3 separate regions of the Homo sapiens genome follow, and all the other regions are linked to region 3. Evidence: promoter capture Hi-C in 16 types of primary human blood cells and fetal thymus (Javierre and others, 2016). All regions are on one chromosome and are shown on one strand. Each heading gives the region's core, a stretch centred on a gene start or on the middle of the fragment in contact. The rest is flanking DNA. Distances are from core to core; before and after follow the strand shown.

Region 1 (4,579 bases), core at 484-2,983, 430 kb before region 3:
GTCTCGAACTCCTGAGCTCAGGCAATCTGCCCACCTTGGCCTCCCAAAGTGCTAGGATTACAGGTGTGAGCCACTGTGCTTGGCCCACCAGGTATTTTTCAAGAGTCAATTAGATGCCAGAAGCTGAGCCAGCTTATGGTTAAATATTGCAGTACAAAACATCACCCCAAAACTGGGGCTGAAAACAACTGCCATTTTATTATGTCACATTTCTGTGGGTTGACTGAGCTCAACTGTGTGTTTTGCTCTCTGTGGTGATAGCTAAGGCTGCAGGTGTCTAGGACATGACACGGCTGGAACCTCCAAGATGGTCCATGCACAGATATGGCAATCAATGCTGACTGTTGGCTATGAGGTTCAGTGGGGCTTTCACCTGGAGTGCCTCAGTTCTCTTCTGTGGTTTCTCCATGTGGCCTGGGCTTCTTACAGCATGGTGCCTGGATTCCTAAAGTCAAGAAGTGAAAGCTTCAGTTCTCCTAAGGCCTGAGTTTAGAAGTTCCAGAATATCACAGCTGCTGCATTCTATTGGACAAAGCCAGTCATGGGGTGTTTTATTCATAGTTGCATAATAATCCCAAAATGTAGTGGTTTAAAATGATGATAAACATTTATCTCTCACAGTTTCTGTGGGTGAGGAATTATGGAGCAGTTTTTCTGGGCAGTTCAGGTTGGGAGTGTCCGTGAGATTGCAGTGAAAATGTTGGCCAAGGTTGCACTCATCTGAAGGCTTGACTGGGGCTGGAGGATCCATTTCCAAGGTGGCTTACTCATATAATTGACAAATTGGTGCTTGTTGTTGGTGGGTAGTCTCAGTTTTTCTGCACATCAGCCTCTCCACAGGCTGCCTGAGTATCTTCACAACCTGATGGGTACTATTCCCCAAGCAAGTAATCCAGGAGACCAAGGCAGCAACCCAAATGCCCTTCATAAGCTAGCCTGAGAAGTCATACATTGCCATTTCCACCATACTGTATCTATTGTGACCCCTGACTCATGGTGGAAGGAGAGATTATGAAAAAGCATGAATGACCAGGAAGTGAGAATCATGGGGGTCATTCTGGAAGTTGGCTACCTCACAAGGCCAGCCCAAGATTCCAAGGGATGGAGAAATAAGCTATAGCTGTGGATGAGGGAACAGTCACGACTAAGTGGCCATCTTTAACCTATCAGAGCTCAACTGTCAGGATGTAACAGAGGACCAGTCAGAAGGGGCTCACTGTTCACAGAGCTCCCAGTCTAGAGGACCACACAGAAAACTAGCAGCAGAGAAGGGATGTGTCTATAATCTTGCGTGGTGATGCGTGTCTGTGTGATCCCAGCTACTCGGGAGGCTGAGGCGGGAGAGTTGCTTGAGCCTGGGAGGCAGAAGTTGCAGTGAGCCAAGATCGCGCCACTGCACTCCAGCCTGGGTGACAGAACCAGACTCTGTCTCAAAAAAAATAAAAGAAAATGAGTCTTTTCTTCCTTCTTCTATGTTTCTATGTTTCTTTGTTTTAAAAATATTCTAAATGAGCTTCTATCATGTTCATAACAGAAAAACCCAAACCATTTCTTGCTGCGGTGGATCCCACAGGCTCAGCAGGAGAGGGTGCGGGGATGGGGCAGAGGTTAAAGGTGGGGGGTTCTCCACCTGTGGATTTTGGTTCCTCCTCTGCTGTGGGGTATCCATTGCACTGCAAGTTTCCGGTTCTTCTGAAAGGCCTGTGACTGTTAGTTAACTCACTTCTGAAAACAAAACTGCCCCTTCAGGCGAGGTGTTGGAGGAAGAATCTCAGAAAAGAAGGGTTATGTTTTTGACACTCCAGGAGTGGGTGGAGCAAAGGAAACTAGGAGCCGATGTTTTCCCTCCTGGGTGGGGTAGACCTATGATGCTGTTTTCTGGTTCAAGATCGAGGTGACTGCCTCTCAAATATGAATTTATGTACTGGGACAACCAGAGAGAATATTTCAAATGGATGCTGTCTTGGAAATGCCAGGATACGTAGTCATTGTAGACAGAAGCTGCTTGGTTGTTCGGAACATTTAGAAATCTTTTTGGTTTCCTGCAACCATATGATATCTTCTTTCACTTCTATTTTTGATTTTTGAGGCTTTAGCACATCACCCCATTGTCTTCCTGCATGCCTTACATTCCATGATCAGTAATTTTCTCTATAGTAAAAAACATCAGCTTCCATTAATTGGGCAACTATTATGTAAAGATGCTATACTAAGCAATTTACATACACAATCTTTACAAAACTGTAGGATGTGGACATCGGCAATTTCTAGATGAGGGGCTCAGGGGAGTTCAATAGCTTCTCCAAGGTCACACAACTCAGAAACAATAGAAGTGGACCCTGAACCCAGGTCGAAATCTGAGCCCAGGTTGAAAAGACCTCAAAGCCACTAGCCTAATGCTGCCTCCCTAAAAGAATACTGTAACATTAAAAGACATTTGATATCTTATATCCCTCCATCCTAACTTAAGATATCTTTTTTGGCTCCAAATTTATCCCTCTTTTTGAAAATAGTCTGTACCACACACCTCTTAAACACCCTCTGAGATCCTTCCAGCCACTGCTGTGGCAGTGAGAACTGTGAATGTTCCCAGCAGCTCTGGCAGGTGTAAACTGACAGTATCTTGCCTCAGGCCTGCAGCTGCCATCTCTCAAACCCAGCCCAGGGCATCTCTTCTGACACTGCAGCTTAGAAAGCACTGGAACCCATTCAGTGCCAAGCCAGTGCATTCTGGAAGCTCGGCTCAGGCAGGTGTGCAGAGCCTTTTACCTATGGGGAAGGGGCCAGTGGGTAAGTGCCCTCCCCTTTACCCCAGGGGCGGGTCCTGAGACACTTCTTACAGTCCTCAGACAGTTCCCTCCAAATCAAGCAGCCAGGAATGTGGCCACCCCAGTGACACGCACTCAAGTGCTTCTGCCTCCCTCCCTGCGTCAGTTCCCGGAGCCTCAATTATGCTCCCTGGGCTCACACCCCCCAGTAGTGTATTCACACACAAGCTTTTGTCTCAAGCTCTGTTTTCTGGGCAACTCTCACAGATCCAAACATTTTCCTTGCCTAAACTCTCACCCAAATATCTTTGCTTCTAAATCAGAAAATGGGTGCTAAGTAACCATATGGAAATGATGAAAGCTAGCAATTCCAACATTTCCACTCACAATTCTGTTGAACAACCTGGGAGGGAGCCAGCATCTCCCGCTTATTCCTAGGTACTCTATATCTGGGTGTATAAATGACCTTTTCAAGGTTACGAACCAAGAAACACCCAACCTTCCCCTGTGTTTGGGTGGATGTATATGTCGTTAAATGGCCAGTTGAGCCCTTCCACTTCTGCTATTTAAGGGATGGTGTGTTCTGGTGGGGCTGAGAGGTGCCCCAGCTGCAGGGCTGGGGCTGTCATCCATTGGCTGTGCTGTTGACCTTCTGTCCCTGGAGTTAGAATCGTGTTCGGGGGTGATTCCAGGCAAGCTCAAGATTGGATTTCCCGTGCTGGAGTGGAGGCAGGAGGATGGTAGTCACGAGCAGGGGACCTTGTGGTTGGAAGGCAACAAAGATGGCAGGCAATGTCAAGGTCATCAAGAGAGCAAGGCAGTATCTGCTGAAAGGCATATTCCTTCTCTGTGCAGAGTGTTGGGAAGGCCCTGAGAGGCAAGGTGCAGAATCAGGGCAGAAAGGGAGGAGAATGTCAGTCTTTCTCCTTAGAAATTCCACCCTGGTGCTGCTCCACATCAGTTAGAAGCCACCATTCCCCAGCGGGCCTTGGAATGACAGAGCTTGAGCCATTTATATTTAATAACCTCAGGCCTCACATGCTAATTGGCAAAGTAAATAATGGGCATCACCACTGTCTGCTGCCCCATTATGGCAGGGAATTATTCTCGTGAGTGCATCCACCACTTGAGGCATCTCTAAAGCCCCTGATGATGTCCCTCAAGGAGCCCTTCCCACAAATGCTTGTATCTCGAAGGTGGTGGGAGTCCTGATTATAAACAGGTTTTCATTTTAGAAGGAAAACCAGTCACGAATGAGGCTCTCCCCCTGCCCCCCATCTTGGAGAGCCGTCCCAGTGCTGGTGCAGAGTGAAAAGAAAGTGTTGGAGGCTTGCCCAGTCCTCAGACTGATTATTTCCCATAAAGGATCCAGGGGAAGAGAAAACCCAGGAGTTGAGCATCTTTAGAAACTCCAGTTCTGTGGCTGCACCTGACCTTGTCATCACTCGGAATGGTTCACCAATGAACGAAGTCGGCTTCCTCTCACCTTTCCTGCCACCACATATTTCCTCCCGTCTATCCCCTCTCCCTTGGATTTCCTATCCCGCATGGAACCCATGACCTATCACTTCAACCACCCTGTTGTCAGTGTCCCCAACTGTTTAGTGTTTCTCCTGTCTGTCCATCCCTAACCCTGGATTCTCCATACCTGGCTTCTGTGGCCAAGCCCCAGAGAGCCATCCATCCAACTCCACAGACCTGGTGCCACCACAAACGCATGGGTCTCCCAGAATCCTCCCTCTCCATCGGGCAGTTCCCACTTTCATTCCTCTTGGTGGCTTTCCAAACCCTCATGGTTCCCCTCAAAGCCC
Region 2 (4,409 bases), core at 904-3,403, 280 kb before region 3:
ATTAAAATGAAATCCATCCTAAAGTGAACAGGATTTTTACCATTTAGGGGATTCAAAAGTATATTCTTTGAAGGGAATTTCCAAAGAATTCCAGAAATATTTTGAGCCCTAGAAGCATGTATGAATAGATGTGTAGCCTCCCAAGATAACTGGAATCAGAGTGCATTAGACTGCTTGATGGGCTCTCGGCCATGTAGTCCAATGAGTCTCAATTTTTTCCCCTTCCAGCTGCACATAAGAAATATGGCGCACATCCCTCAGTAACAGTATGAGCACATCAGAACCTAGGAGGGTGGTGTTTGGGGCACCCTCTCTCAGGCATTACCCTCCTCTCCCAAGCTGAGAAAAATTACTACCCTGCTCTGTCTTCCAGAGCAGACAGATGGGAAAAGGCAACCAGCAAGGGCTGGTAACCTGTCCAGGGTCATGTGTGAGTGGCAGAACCAAACCTTAAACTTGATCCTCCTACCTCCCTTTGAAGAGAAGCCCCTGCAGTGCTTATGTTCTGGTGCGTATGTTGGGACAAACCAGTCTGGCTACCCTCAGTCATACCCTGAGGAGCTGACCAAACTATGTGGCCATGAGAGAAGGATCTAGAGAAGGTCTAGGCCAGTAGGCTTTCTTGTAAGCTTCAGGAAAATACCCAGATAATGTTATTTTTCCTCCGTTAAGAATCATGGCCTTCTACCCTTTGTTGCAGTTGTGCGAAGATGCCATTTTGAGATGGGAATGCTGCCTTCACCTGAGAGTCTCCATCAAGGAAATTGGCCATTTTCAACTGTAGAGTCAAATCCAGCAATCATGGAGAGAGTAGGGATTAAAAGCCTGCTCGGCTGGGCACAGTGGCTCACGCCTGTAATTCCAGCACTTCAGGAAGCTGAGGCGGGCGGATCATAAGGTCAGGAGTTCAAGACCAGCCTGGCCAACATGGTGAAACCCCATCTCTACAAAAATACAAAAATTAGCCAGGCATGGTGGCGGGCACCTGTAATCCCAGCTACTCATGAGGCTGAGGCAGAAGAATCGCTTGAACCTGGGAGGCGGAGGTTGCAGTGAGCTGAGATCCTGCCATTGCACTCCAGCCTGGGCAACAGAGACTCCGTCTCAACAACAACAACAAAAAATTGCCTGCTAAGCCTAATTCACAGTTTAAGCTAATTTCTTTGCTTGGAGTCTAATAATATCCAAGCAGGTGCATGTTTTCAGTAACATCTCGCCTAGTCATATGTCTGAAAGAACAAAACTGAAAGTTCTTTCCTTAGAGGCCTTTAACCCAAGCCGCTCTTCTCTAGCTCAGTCACAGCCTTCACCAAGAAGTCCTGAAAAGATAGAACTCTTGCATTACCGTGCTGGTTCTGGGTGTTTGCCTTTGCAGAGGCGCCACCTGCCAAGCAGTTCTGGCACCAGGGAGCAGGTCTGTGATGACAGGAGAGAGACAGTGGCTGTGACTCTGGCTCTTAAACCACAATGGAGGGATTCAAGTTAGCTTAGGTAGCTCTCAGAGGAGACTAATGAGGGAAGGAAGGAGCAAGGGGGGAAGGAAGGTGCCCCTGGGAGTGTGTCTCACTTCCCTTGCTGGTTCATCCGAGAAGGCAGGGACCCTGGCTTGCTGATGGTTGCATCCTCTGTGGCATTTAACGTGGCATGCTGGTTATACCCACTGTAGGGGGCACTCAGCAAATATTTATTGAATTCTTCTTTGAGACTCATTAAGACCAATAAAGGGGCTGTATTATATCATCAAGCAAGTGGGTTGTGGATGGGGGTGGGAGGTATTGCTTCAGCTATATTTTATATTCTTTAATGGGATTGCACCAGTTGTGTGTCTTTCTACAGAACTAGAGGAGCTTTCAGGATATTTGCTTGGGTGGACGTGACCCATAGTGTGTAGTGTTCTTTTGGTGGGCTCTTCTTATCAGTAATGAGATTAATTTTTCCATTGCCAAACTCCATGAGGTAAACAGTTTGTGATTATTTCATGTCAGTTTCATTTTTCACTCAGCATGATGTTTCACTGTTAAAAAAATGAACCTTGGCCCAGAGTTGTCCTCTCATGTATTAAACATGACTTCCTTTGTTAGTAGACTAATTTATAATTATAATTCAAAACCATCCCATTCTCCAGTGGATTATTTCCCCCCTCTCTGTCAGATGAAGGAATAATTGTTTGTCTGGGCTGCAGGAGTGTCTGTCATGGAAACCGAATTTTTCTGTACATTCTCTGAACAAACAGTGCTGTCACATCCCTAGAACCTGACATTGTCATTGATCTCCAGTTGAGTCAGAGAAGTTTGTTGACCAAGGTAAATCAGATCTCTCTTCTCTTAAAGCAAATGGCCCATGACTCCTGAGGGGCCACTAGGAGTGAGAGAATCACCTGTACAGGGGGCCACAACTGTGGCTAGGAATGTGTTACTTGAGGCGGTGCTTCCCAGCCATGACTCAGTCACCTGGGGAGCTTTTTAAAAACGCTGTGCTGGGGCCCCATCCTATGTGAATGAAATTGGAATCTCTGGGAGTGGGGGCCGGCATCTTTTCTTTTTTAAAAAAAAAATGTTTAAGGCCAGGCTCAGTGGCTTACACCTGTAATCCCAGCACTTTGGGAGGCCAAGACAAGAGGATCACTTGAAGTCAGGAGTTTGAGACCAGACTGGGCAACAATGAAAGACCCCATCTCTACCAAATAAACCAGCAAAAAATGTTTTAAGGCCCAAGTGACTCTGATGTGCAGCCAGGATGAGGCCTTCAAGTAATTTTTGTACCTTAATCCTGGAAAGAACAAATGCATCTCCAAATTCCCAGTCACGTCACAGAGCACGGGACCAGACTAGACACAGCATTTGGCTCATTTTACAGAGAGGTTAGGATTGATAGAGTCCGCTAGTTAGTGTTAGAACTAGAAATAAAGTTCTAACTTTATTTCTAGTTCTAGGCGTGGTGGCTCATGCCTGTAATCCCAGCACTTTGGGAGGCTGAGACGGGCGGATCATCTGAGGTCAGGAGTTGGAGATCAGCCTGGCCAACATGGTGAAACCCCGTCTCTACTAAAAAAATGACAAAAATTAGCCAGGCGTGGTGGCGCGTGCCTGTAATCCCAGCTGCTTGGGAGGCTGAGGCAGGAGAATTGCTTGAACCCAGGAGGCAGAGGTTGCAGTGAGCCAAGATCCCACCACTGCACTCCAGCCTGGGGAACAAGAGTGAAACTCAATCTCAAAAAAAAAAAAAAAAAAAAAAAAAAAAACCTAGAAAAAAAGGAACCTAATATTACATTTTCTCTACTGTACTATATCATTCAACTTTTAAAGAGCAGGTAATTTAATGGATTTTTTCCTTTGAATACAAACTGTTGAAATTGCTTTTATCAGCTTTAACTAATAGGCCTTATATTAAAACATATTTAGTTACTGAATTGTAAGATGTTTAAATGTTTATTTAAAGTTACCCGACTTATGCTTGTTTATTTATTTATATATTTGTTTATTGCCTTTTCCATATATTAAGAGGCTTAAGAAATCAAAACAATGTTGTTTTCCAGGCTCCTTCACAGTATCCTGATGGGTAAAATCATCTTCATGGTTTTAAAAGAACCTTCCATAACAAAAATGAAATAGCCATTGCGAGTGAGGAGAAGGGATTTGTAGAAGGAGTGAGTTAGTTAAAGCACAAGAAGAAGCTTGTGAACCAACAGGAACTTTCCTATCAGGGTGGGAACATATGTTTTGGAAGCAAATGGTGGGAGGGTGCAGGCTGTGACACTCCCTTCCCCTTTTCATGTGAGAGCTGGCTATTAGCCTCATTGCCTGAGTCAGGCAGAGTTCCCTCGAAGGGTTTTTATAGCAGGTGCCGAGCTGACAAGCCCAACTGTAGAACACAGGAGAGGACCAGTCAGTTGTCTCAGCTCCCGGACCCATCTCAGTTGTTTCTCAGAGGATCTTTATTAGCTGGTTTAGAAACAGGAGGACACTTGCTTTCAAGCATCACATTGAGTGGGCTGGACCAAATCCAAAACTCTGCTGGAACCAAGTTGACAAATGTCAGTAGAATTGGGAGCCCGCTCTTTGAATACAACCTTGGAATGGGGCTTGGCACCTGGCCTGAAAGCGCTGTGTGGACTCCAGCACCAGGGCTGTTTCCTAATTTAACTTAATGCTTAAAGGAAATCCCAAGTGGCAGACCAGTTCTGCACTCCTTGAGCAGATAGGCATTTAGCTGTTTTTAAATGTAAAATCATTTTAGCTGTTTTTAAATGTAATCATAGGGCCAGTATCTTGTTTCTATATGTGTGTTTGCCCCATATGATGAAATTGTATGCATTCTTTCAGCAAGTGAGAGTCCGGAGGTTCTGTACTAGCTAGCTGTGCAACTTTGGGCAAATGAGTTATTTCCCCCTCTGCTTCCTCATCTGTAAA
Region 3 (4,333 bases), core at 1,822-4,321:
ACCCCAAAATTTTGGACCTAGGTAGAGGAGGTGTTGCACAACATTGTGAATGTAATATATACCACTGAATTGTGCAATTTCAAACAGTTAATTTTATTACGTAAATCTCACTTCAATTTAAAAAAATAGCCAGGTGTGGTGTATACCTACTCAGCTATTCAGGAACTATCACTTGAGCCCAGGGGTTTGAGGCCAGCCTGGGCAACCTAGCAAATCACTGTCTTAAAAAAATACAAATTTTAAAATAAAAAGATAAATTGAGAGAGAAAAAGATCCTGCCTTCGTAGAGTTTATATTTTAGTGGGTGAGCCACATCAGACAGTAAATCAGCACACACTTAAGTAATGATGTACTGTGATAATCACTTGGTGGGAAGTAGGGTGTGAGAGAACAGAGAGGCTCTGAGATGGGAAGGGGATGGGTAGTTTGAAAAACTGCAAGGAGACCATCTGGGCCAATGCTTGGAGAGCCAAAGGCAGTGATTTAAAATGAACCCAAGGAGGTAAGCAGGGACCAGGTCCTGCAGAGCCTTAAATGTCACAGGAGGGAGTGTGACATTCAATCTAAGAGCAATGGGGAGCTGGGGAGGGTTTTAAACAAGGGATTGACAGGAACTGAGTTATATTTAACCGTTTGATCTGCTTTATTATTATTGAGACAGTGTCTTACTCTGTCACCCAGGCTGGAGTGCAGTGGCACGATCTCTGCTCACTGCAACCACTGCCTCTTGGGTTCAAGCAATTCTCGTGCCTCAGCCTCCTGAGTAGCTGGGATTACAGGTGTGCACCACCACGCCCAGCTAATTTTTATATTTTTAGTAGAGACATGGTTTCACCATCTTGGCCAGACTGGTCTCGAACTCCTGACTTCAAGTGATCCACTCACCTTGGCCTCCCAAAGTGCTGGGATTACAGGTGTGAGCCACTCCACCCAGCTGATCTGCTTTTAAATGCACTTATTAGCTTGCCCCTTTTCTAGGGTAGAAAAAATCTTGTGTTTTCTGATGCGACCCACTGGGTCGCATCAGAATTACCTAGGAAGCTTATTTTTCAAATACAATACTGAGAGCCATTGGATTGGAGGGGTGGCTGGCGGAGGTATTTTGGAGTAGCTTCCCAGAGGACTCTGATTCTCCACTGCCCCTATCACTTTGAGAATTACTGTTGTTCTAGAAGCTTAAAAGGATTGAAATGGATATTAGCTGCCTTATCATGAACTCTTAACCCACTTTACAGGGATGGGAGGGGCCATGATTCAGTGACTTTAACAATTCCAGTGGCCAGTCCCCAGACTGACAGGTTATCGACTCTTGGGGCAATAGAGTGGGATCTCTAAGTTCAGGAGGTAAGAAAACAGCAGCAGCGGTGTTTATCACTAGAGGCATGAGGAGAACTAATTTCTAAAAAGCACTGGAGAACTATACTGTAAAAAAGATCTGGGGTGCTATGATGCAAGGAAGGAAGTATTACTTGGTTGGGGCTGGAAAAATAAAGCAATTATAGTAAAAAAACTAAAAAAAAAAAAAAGTCTAGATCCCGGCTTCTTGACAGTGTGGTCTGAGAAGCAACAGCATCGCTGGCAGCTTGTTACAAATGCAGAGTCCTGGGCCCTGCCACAATCTGCATTTTTAATAAGAGCCTCGAGTGTTTTTTATGTGCTCATTAAAGTTTAAGCAGCACTGGTCCATATCACGGCGAGGAGATCCAGACCATCAGAGGGTAGGCTCCCTGGCACAGCTGACGCATTTTTGAATACTTTGATACAGCACAGTGTACCTGAAAAGATACTGCATTTTTGAAAATTAAGTGCTATAAATACTGGAGAAAGACCTCTTTTTTTAAACTGCGGGGAGGTTTCTCATAAGCCAAATTTCTTTTGACTAGAAGCATTTTCTGGGGAGTAAAGTACCAGGCTTCCTTAAAGTGAGGCGGAGCCACGTTAAAAATGTGCGGTAGAACTCAGCCTTGGCCAAGTCGACCGTTCACCAGCTGGGTCAAGTCTGGAGCCTCCTAGGTCCCTTGGCAGTTCCGAGCTACCAGCATGAGCTTTTACAGGAAGTTGAGTTGGCTGCTGTTCTGCCCCACAGAGCAGCTGAGTCTTTTTTTTTTTTTTTTTTTTTTTTGATGAGTTTCACTCTTGCCGCCCAGGCTGGAGTGCAGTGGGGCGATCTCGGCTCATTGCAACCTCTGCCTCCAAGGTTCAAGCGATTCTCCTGCCTCAGCCTGCCGAGTAGCTTGGATTACAGGCGCCCGTCACCACACTCGGCTAATTTTTGTATTTTTAGTAGAGACGGGGTTTTCACCATGTTGGCCAGGCTGGTCTCGAACTTCTGACCTCAGGGGATCCGCCCGCCTCAGCCTCCCAAAGCGCTGGGATTACAGGCGTGAGCCACAGCTACCGACTCTGAGTTGAGTCTTTAACGCCGAAGATGCAGAAAGGAGACTTGACAAAACTATTTTCGGGGAGTGTGGCCGCGGAATTCGGTGAGGGTGCTATACCGGGAGAGAGTAGTAGCAACGGCTCATTCACTGTGAAGCCCCTAAGTGACCTTAGACCTCTGACCCCGCGCCTCACTCGGCGCTTCCGCGCGCAGCTTCCGCTCCCGCCCCTCCGACGAAAGGCTGGGCCAAAGGTGGGGGGGTGGGGCTCTGAGGTCGGCAGTTAGGGGCGGTGCCCGCTGGGGGCGGGTCTCGCGAGGGGCAGGATTCGAGGAGGCACTCGAGCATTGGGCACCAGGTAGAGGCGGGGCCTAGTGCTGGGCTGGGTTGGGCGGGGCAGGGAGTTCGTAGCCGCCTCTGGGTAACTCGACTCGGGCGGCCAAACCTCCGGAGGCCGGGGACGGAAGGCGGGCCCGCAGCAGATCCTGGATCCGGAATCTCCCGGGCAGGAGCGGAATCTGTCCCGAACCGGGTCTGTGAGGAACTCGCGAACTTGGATTAGGAAATCCCGGAGCCCGGATCGACAAATCCCGGAACCCGGAATTAAGATCGCCAAGTCCCGGATCGCGGAGCACAGAGCACGGAGTGGACTCGACGCGGAGCCCGGAGTCCGGATCGCGGCACCGCGGGACGGGACGGAGCGATGTCGGGCCGAGGCGCGGGCGGGTTCCCGCTGCCCCCGCTAAGCCCTGGCGGCGGCGCCGTGGCTGCGGCCCTGGGAGCGCCGCCTCCCCCCGCGGGACCCGGCATGCTGCCCGGACCGGCGCTCCGGGGACCGGGTCCGGCAGGAGGCGTGGGGGGCCCCGGGGCCGCCGCCTTCCGCCCCATGGGCCCCGCGGGCCCCGCGGCGCAGTACCAGGTGAGCAAGGAGGACGCGAGCGGACGGGGGCGAGAGGCGCTGCGAGGGCGCCCGGGCCGGCGGCTGAAGGGGCCTCGAGTGAGGGCCCTGGGGAATGCATGAGGAACTCCGGGAGACGGTGGAGGGCGGGCCGGGACCCTCGGGCTGCGGCGGGTCGCGGTGGAGAAGTGGGAAGGGGAAGCAGGTTCTGCAGCGGAGGGCTGGAAGCAGCTGGGAGGCCTGGGGGCTTCCGCGGCACAGGGATTCCGAGTGACTGGGAGATGGAGGAGTTTGGGGAGCCAGTGAATTGTGGCGGGTGGGTTGAGAAGTCTAGGGTAGGAGGGCTGGAAAGTGATGAGAAAGTTTGGGAAAGGGCCCTCGCTGAGAAACCGGGGTTACCCTGCATCGGCCTTGGTCCCAGTCCAAGTCTGCCCTGTTTTTTCTGATTGGGAACTGGCGGAGCTCTAGCGTGTCTGAGATGGCTCCCGGCTGCTAATAAGGAGGAAGGAGCCTGGCTTCCCACGGGCACGGGACGCTGAGGCTAGGGCCAGGGGATTCCAGCTTGTGCACGGGCGGACTTTACTCCTGAGGCAGGGCCAGGCGCCTTCGCTGGGAGGACTCCAGCTTAGACCAGAGACGGTGGTGGCCTGGCCTGAGGGGAGGCCCAGCCCAGTCACAGGCCGGCTCTCTTCTGGGCTTTCTGCCTCCTGTCATCGTGTCCGGGAGTTGATTAGTCTGGACGTGCAGAGTGGAGCCCTGCTGGTCTGGGGCCGGAGGAGTCTGCGAGAGTTGCTTCAAAGAGTGCTGTCCTGACCCCTTTGGGGTTTTGAGAGCTGCTCAGATTGCAGCTTCAAAAGCCCTTGCAAAGCAGCGACTTCTGCTCAGTGTGTGAGGACCTCAGCCTGACCCTGCCAGTGCTCTAGTCTGCTGTTCAGGTTGCCCCAGAGGGCTTGGAAACTGTGCCCATCTGCCTTGTCACCCTCTCTGCATTTTTATTTGGCCTTCAGGTTCTAACTCCACCACGTCCGAAGCCATGTGCCCAAGCATTTGACACTGG

Evidence for each region. The method cuts DNA at HindIII sites, captures the fragments that hold promoters and counts their contacts. A CHiCAGO score of 5 or more calls a contact.
Region 1: a contact is called between a fragment that was not itself captured here and the fragment with the promoter of SMARCD2 in region 3, in 2 of 17 cell types (total CD4 T cells and fetal thymus). The highest score is 6.3, in total CD4 T cells.
Region 2: a fragment that was not itself captured here is called in contact with the fragment with the promoter of SMARCD2 in region 3 in 2 of 17 cell types (total B cells and total CD8 T cells); the score reaches 5.5 in total B cells.

Annotation. Positions count from the first base shown.
Region 1 is chr17:64,268,211-64,272,789 of GRCh38, reverse strand. No RefSeq gene overlaps it. Among named protein-coding and RNA genes, the nearest start is that of TEX2, 7.2 kb to the right of the region's middle. The HindIII fragment of the contact is 2,531 bases long and covers 468-2,998 here.
Region 2 is chr17:64,118,209-64,122,617 of GRCh38, reverse strand. All of the region lies in intron 1 of ERN1 (endoplasmic reticulum to nucleus signaling 1), which reads left to right. Among named protein-coding and RNA genes, the nearest start is that of ERN1, 9.7 kb to the left of the region's middle. RefSeq lists enhancers at 1,151-1,290, 1,521-1,580. The HindIII fragment of the contact is 3,044 bases long and covers 632-3,675 here.
Region 3 is chr17:63,841,423-63,845,755 of GRCh38, reverse strand. SMARCD2 (SWI/SNF related BAF chromatin remodeling complex subunit D2) reads left to right here and starts at 3,071. Exons shown (of 13, transcript NM_001098426.2): 1 at 3,071-3,297. The coding sequence starts at 3,082. RefSeq lists a cis regulatory region at 1,080-1,469, silencers at 2,579-2,748, 3,119-3,348 and an enhancer at 4,069-4,148. The HindIII fragment of the contact is 8,345 bases long and covers 1,178-4,333 here.